2 separate regions of the Homo sapiens genome follow, and region 1 is linked to region 2. Evidence: promoter capture Hi-C in human tissues and cell types (Jung and others, 2019). All regions are on one chromosome and are shown on one strand. The core of a region is centred on a gene start or on the middle of the fragment in contact, and the rest is flanking DNA. Distances in the headings are between cores, read along the strand shown. Region 1 overlaps MAP7 (microtubule associated protein 7). Region 2 holds the start of MAP7 (microtubule associated protein 7).

The links. Contacts are between HindIII fragments. The study calls those that stand out against the background at their distance.
Region 1: a contact is called between a fragment that was not itself captured here and the fragment with the promoter of MAP7 in region 2, in 1 of the 25 tissues and cell types used here (hippocampus).

Annotation. Positions count from the first base shown.
Region 1 is chr6:136,399,730-136,402,970 of GRCh38, reverse strand. The region is part of intron 3 of MAP7 (microtubule associated protein 7); the gene reads left to right. Among named protein-coding and RNA genes, the nearest start is that of BCLAF1, 110 kb to the right of the region's middle. The HindIII fragment of the contact is 5,402 bases long and covers 1-3,241 here.
Region 2 is chr6:136,548,760-136,551,757 of GRCh38, reverse strand. MAP7 (microtubule associated protein 7) reads left to right here and starts at 1,336. Exons shown (of 18, transcript NM_003980.6): 1 at 1,336-1,416. The coding sequence starts at 1,350. It overlaps MAP7-AS1 (MAP7 antisense RNA 1), which reads left to right. Exons shown (of 1, transcript NR_186370.1): 1 at 1-1,035. RefSeq lists silencers at 1,035-1,384, 1,425-1,604, 1,615-1,664 and enhancers at 886-1,423, 1,962-2,500. The HindIII fragment of the contact is 8,644 bases long and covers 1-2,998 here.

The DNA of each region.
Region 1 (3,241 bases), core at 408-2,907, 150 kb after region 2:
AGTAAGTCCTTTCTTTTTCTTTTTCTTTCTTTTTTTTTTTTTTTTTTTTTTTTTTTTTTTTTTTTGAGACAGAGTCTTGCTCTTTCGCCCAGGCCGGAGTGCAGTGGCGCTATCTCGGCTCACTGCAAGCTCCGCCTCCCAGGTTCACGCCATTCTCCTGCCTCAGCCTCCCGAGTAGCTGGGACTACAGGCGCCCGCCACCGCACCCGGCTAATTTTTTGTATTTTTAGTAGAGACGGGGTTTCACCGTGTTAGCCAGGATGGTCTCGATCTCCTGACCTCGTGATCCGCCGGCCTCGGCCTCCCAAAGTGCTGGGATTACAGGCGTGAGCCACCGTGCCCGGCAGTAAGTCCTTTCTTATTTGAAAAATCATTCAGCCTACATATAAGAAAAGCTCTTGATCTCCACCTATGTAACTACTATTCTAGCACCTCAACCCCATTAGCCCACCACTGTGTGCAGTGACAGGGTGAAATGGGAAGGACCCTCTGTGCAGGAGCACCGTGTTGTGGGGATCCTCCAAGGTCACACTTCTTATCAGGCAGCTCTCCACTGAATGCTTTTAATGACAAGTTGAGAAGGCTTTGAGTTGTCACCAAAGCCCAGTGTGAATCACTATGCTTGGAGATCACTCTGTCCTTTAACTCTTTAGTTCATTTATTCAAGCATATTTTAACCATCTGCTAGACTAGACATTGTGTGTATAGGGAAGAATTCACAAACACATAAAAGCAGAGTAGCTACCGTCTGGAGTGTAAGTGCTATGAGGGAGTCTGAATCCAGCTAGCAGATGGGGCTCCTGTGCTGTGGTCATCAGGAAAGGCTCCTCAGAGGAAGGAGCTTCTGAGCTAGGACTTGAAAGACAGAAGTTTGCCAGGGGGAAGGAGGTGTGTGTGAAGATGCATGATCCTATGGCCAGTCCAAGGGGTTGGACAGGGAACAGTAGGAGAACTAACAGGTTTTCAAGCACGACAATGACTTCAGGTCTGTTTCTTGAGGAAGATATCTCTGAGACGACTAATGTGTAGGATGGATTTGAAGTGGTTAAAGACTAGAAATGAGGCATGAGAAAGGAATGAGAGTTTAAAGTAGTGGTAAAAAGATTGGAGAGGCTACAGCAGATTCAAGCGATCATTCTGTGTTTTTCTGTTTTTTTACATTAGAGACAGGGTTTCTTTTTTTTTTTTTAATTATACTTTAAGTTCTTGGGTACATGTGCACAACGTTCAAGTTTGTTACATATGTATACATGTGCCACGTTGGTGTGCTGCACCCATTAACTCATCATTTACATTAGGTATATCTCCTAATGCTATCCCTCTCCCCTCCTCCCACCCCACGACAGGCCCAGGTGTGTGATGTTCCCTATCCTGTGTCCAAGTGTTCTCATTGTTCAGTTCCCACCTATGAGTGAGAACATGCGGTGTTTGGTTTTCTGTCCTTGCGATAGTTTGCTCAGAATGATGGTTTCCAGCTTTATCCATGTCCCTACAAAGGACAAGAACTCATCCTTTTTTATGGCTGCATAGTATTCCATAGTGTATATGTGCCACATTTTCTTAATCGAGTCTATCATTGATGGACATTTGGGTTGGTTCCAAGTCTTTGCTATTGTGAATAGTGCCTCAATAAACATGTCACCCAGGATGGAGTGCAGTGGTGCAATCATAGCTCACTGCATCCTCAAACTCTTGGGCTGAAGGGACCCTTCTGCCTCAGCCTCCCAAGTACCTGGGACTACAGGCATGTGCCAACAAGTCCAGATAATTTTTCTTTCTTTTTTGTGGAGATGGGGGTCTTGCTATGTTGCCCATGCTAGTCTCAAACTCCTGAGCTCAAGCAGTCTTCCCACCTTGGCCTCCCAAAGTGTTAGGATTACAGGTGTGAGCCACTGCACCCAGCTGAGAGATCATTCTGATACAACAATTGATGGGACCAATTATATGGATGTGTTGAGTTAGGGTGCACCATGCATGAGGGAAACATTGTGGAAGACTTGAAGTGACTAACTTTATAGACCATTTGGTCTCAGGAATCTGCTATCAGAATACGGAAGACAAAGAAAGTTCCAGTTTGGAGCAGGGAAGAATGTGCAGATAATGAATAAGATTATATGATGGATCTGACTGAGAAATTCAGGTGGAAATTAGAAGCATGCAGAAGTGAATATAGAGGCAATATTGTAGAGTGACTGAGTACAAGCTTTCGAGTCAGAGCTGAATGAAAATCCCAGCTGTTTTCTTTTAGACCATGTGCTGATCTTGGAAGCATCATTTCACTTCTTTGGGTCTTTTTCCTCATTTGATCTTCAGTTCTATTTTTTCTGGTAGCAATAGTCCCACAGTTATTACATTTTTGTTTTCATTTGCCTGATAGCCATTTGCTCATTATTTTAGTGTTATTTGACGCTTTGTTTTAGTTTTGTTTCTTTTAAACAACATAGCTAGGTGTTTTTGTTTTTAACCCATTCTAAAAGTCTTAATAGGCTTGATTTTAGTCCATCTGGCTTTTTTTAAAAAATGTTGTTTCCCCCAACTCTTTTTTTTTTTTTTTTGAGACAGAGTCTCGCCCTGTTGCCCAGGCTGGAGTGCAGTAGCGCAATCTTGGCTCACTGCAACCTCCGCCTCCCAGGTTCAAGTGATTCTCCTGCCTCAGCCTCCCTAGTAGTTGGGACTACAGGCGCCCACCACCACGCCTGGCTAATTTTTTGTATTTTCAGTAGAGACAGGGTTTCACTGTGTTAGCCAGGATGGTCTCGATCTCCTGACCTCGTGATCTGCCCGCCTCAGCCTCCCAAAGTGCTGGGATTACAGGCGTGAGCCACCACACCCAGCCTATTTTCCCCTTTTTTTAAAAAAGAAAAAAAAACTTTTTTGTAGGAGGGGCAGGGCTGGTGGTGTAGAGGTAGGGGTTGGTTTGATGTAAGTACCATTCATTCCATGGTTATCTTTAATAATTTGAAAGGTGTGCTAAACTTTTCCATTCTATTAATGATTACATTTTCATTCCTGTTTCTTGACTATTAAATGAAACTAATTAGTATTTCCCACACAAATGCTCTAAGACCTACAAAATATTTTTACTTTTCCATCTTTAGATGTTCTTATTATTTTATTCTACAACTCCCTTCTAAAATTGATGAGCATAGGTTAAGCCATTAGATTCCTTTTTAAAAAGAATTATTATTCAGCACATATATCAGTCAGCATATAATATGAAAATGACATGTATTTGAATATA
Region 2 (2,998 bases), core at 87-2,586:
AAAAATCTTTGCTGAGGCCCAAGCTGAGGTCAAAAACTACCTCTAGCCATCTGGTGCTTTATTTTTATTGATTAGAAGTCTCTGATAAGACTGATTTGAATGTGATTTAGGAATATCACATTCTAAATGGTCAGTTTGCCTATTCCATTATAGAAATGACACTACGGGAAAATTCATCATCACAGACCACAGCAGAAGTGTTCTTTAGTTAAAGCTCTACCTAGTCATCCAGAAAGCCAGTAAGTAAACCAAATAAAAATAGTTCACTGGGCTCAGAGTGGCAAGTTTTGCATGCAAAGATCGTGAAAATTGTAACCCTAACAATAAATCCAATACTGTTCTCGACTCTCTTGTGTGTCCAGTGCTGCTGCAGTCCTTGGAAGGCTTTTAAACTGTTCAGAGCTTGCTGGTTATCTTCAGCCAAGCCAGAGAGTGGGAGTGCAGTGCATTTTAGTGTAACCATGCGGAACTGGTCGCTCCTTGATTTTGTGCCGTATGTTTCCATTTGTGTAGGCTTTTTCCCCCCTCAGTATTTTGTTGCTTATCCTTTAGAGCGAAATTGGTTTTTCCTCGGCCAATAATCTGTTTCTTTAAAAAAAGAAAAATTCGTTACCTATTGCCTTTTTTTCTGGTCTTCCTGAGCAAGCCAGAAGTCACAAGGTCGTTTACTAAACGGAAACTAAGAAAAAGAAAAGCCACATCAGCCGGCACAAGCCTCTCTAACTTGTGTGCCCTGAGGCTCATCAGATGCGAAGTCCTGGCGACAAGATAGGGTCGCCCGCAGTGGCTTCCTAAAGCGCAGATCCAGGCCGGCTCCCAGCGTGGAATCCGACCCATGTACTTCGCCTCTCCACGTGGCATCAGATGCTCTGCCGGCTGTCACCGTGAACTCCAGCCCTCGCGGAGCCGACACTGACCTGGCTACTTCAGAGTTCGGAGGGAAATAGCGTCTCCGTACCCTCGCCCCACCTGGGCTGCTCCTCGGACCGCCGCTCGTCCCAGACTCCAGGAGGCGCCACCAGGCCTCGCTGACCCCGCTCCATATCTCCGGGAGCCCTCAGCTGGTCGGCCGCGGCGACCGGAAGCTCCGGACTGAGGTACTGGTTCCGCCCGCCGCTCTTCCAGCCGAGACTCGGCAGCGGCGGTCGGAGCGGCTGCCACGCCGCACCTGCCCGCGAGGGGGCGCGCCAGGCCCAGGCCGCAGCCGACTGCCGCGCTCTCTGTCCCCGCCCTCCGCCATCCCCGGACTGCGCTCACCTGTCTGGGCCGCTGGCCTGGGAGGCGGGGGCCGGCGGGAGCCAAGCCGAGGAAAGGGCGGAGCGGCTCTCCGGGCGCGTCATCGGAGCACCATGGCGGAGCTAGGAGCTGGCGGCGACGGCCACAGGGGCGGCGACGGCGCAGTGCGAAGCGAAACAGGTGACCGCACAGCGGGGATAGTGGGGGTCCCGTCGGGCAGGGGACGGCGAGCGGGGCCGGCGGGCTGGCACCGAAATCACCCGGCGCCGGCAGCCCCCTCCCCGCCCGCGCGGCCGCGGCCCGGAACAACCGGCCCTGCGCGCCGCGCACCCTGCTCCGAGAGCGCCTTCCCCCGCCCTTCGCCGCCGCGGCTCGGCCAGCCCGGCTCGGCCCCGGCCGGGGTTGCGGCCGCCCTCGGGCGCTCCACCGCGACTTTCCCGCAACAGGTGGAGGCGAGCCGGGGGAGGAAACGGAGAGACCCCGGCCGCTGCCCTCCCCGCCGCGGCCTCGGGTCTAATTCAGTTGAATGGGAAATCGTATCCCCCAGACCAAACCAGTGGCCAGAGAGTCGTCGGCCAGGTGCGACTGGCAGGACGAGCAGTTTCTGGGCACCTCCTCCCGCCTTCCCTGGTCGCCCCGGGTGCCGGGGGCTCCTCAGCGGGGTCGGTGTGGGGCAGGACCGCGGGGTGAGCGGCCCGCCCCCCAATCTGGTGCCCGCAGTGGCGACGACCGTCGTCCGAGGGGACCGAGCTCGGGAGGGCCGGGGCCCAGTGCAGCACGGTGGGGGTTTGCGAGTGCGGGCTTGACGGGATCAGACTTTCGTTGACTTGTCGGAGTTCTCAGAGTTTTTTGTTTTTAGTCTGTGCAGGAGCCCAAAGGAGGATTGTTGGCTCTGCAGCCCGGGATTTGGTGGTCAGGCCTCTGTGTTGAGGATACCCCTCCCCCACAACCTCCAGGGGCACACTTAGGGACAGGGGATCACGTCCCCAAGACCAGCAGCAAGGCTTCCCAAGACCAGCAGCAAGGCTTCCCAACCCCGCCCATCTCTCCATAGTATGAAGCCGATTTTTCTCCCTCGTGATTTTTTTTTCTCCAGAGGCTATCTTGCAAATCCGTCCCTCTCCACTGGTTCCCTCTTCTATTCTTGGCCAGTAAGCTGTTTCTATATCTTCCTACACTTGGGGATGGGGGCAGTGAGGCAGTTTCTTACTTTAAAAAGAAATTCAATTCTTAGACTCTCCAATTGCAAGCTGTTTTCCACTTCCATACGGTCACAATCGGAAGCATTTGTTTCCTAAATGTAAGAATCACTGTCTCCCCACCATCAAGTATGCTTATTTTAACGTGAAAGGTCCAGAGAGCTCTGAAACAGTATTTGCAAATTATGTATCTGCTATTGCTAGGAAGAGGTTGGGTACGTAAAGTCTAATGATTTAATCCCTTCAGCCAAGATACCTGAGGTTAAGACTGACAAAGTATCTTGAACTTGTTTAAGTCATGCTCCTTCCTGTAGGGAGTTTGTCTTAATGTGTTCGCAAGATTGGTAGATCATTATTTTGTTTTGGGGTGGAGAAGAGATGCCTTTGTAATTGCTTTCGGGAATTTGATGAGCTAGACGCTGGGACGGGGCTCCCCCAAGTGAGGGCCCCGGGAGAGGAGCATCCTCATTTGTAAATATACGGCATGATTTTCGTTCCTAACCCTGACCCAGTAACTGCATGTGAAACAACATTGTTCTAGCGAGCTAAGTGTTAGTTTGTGC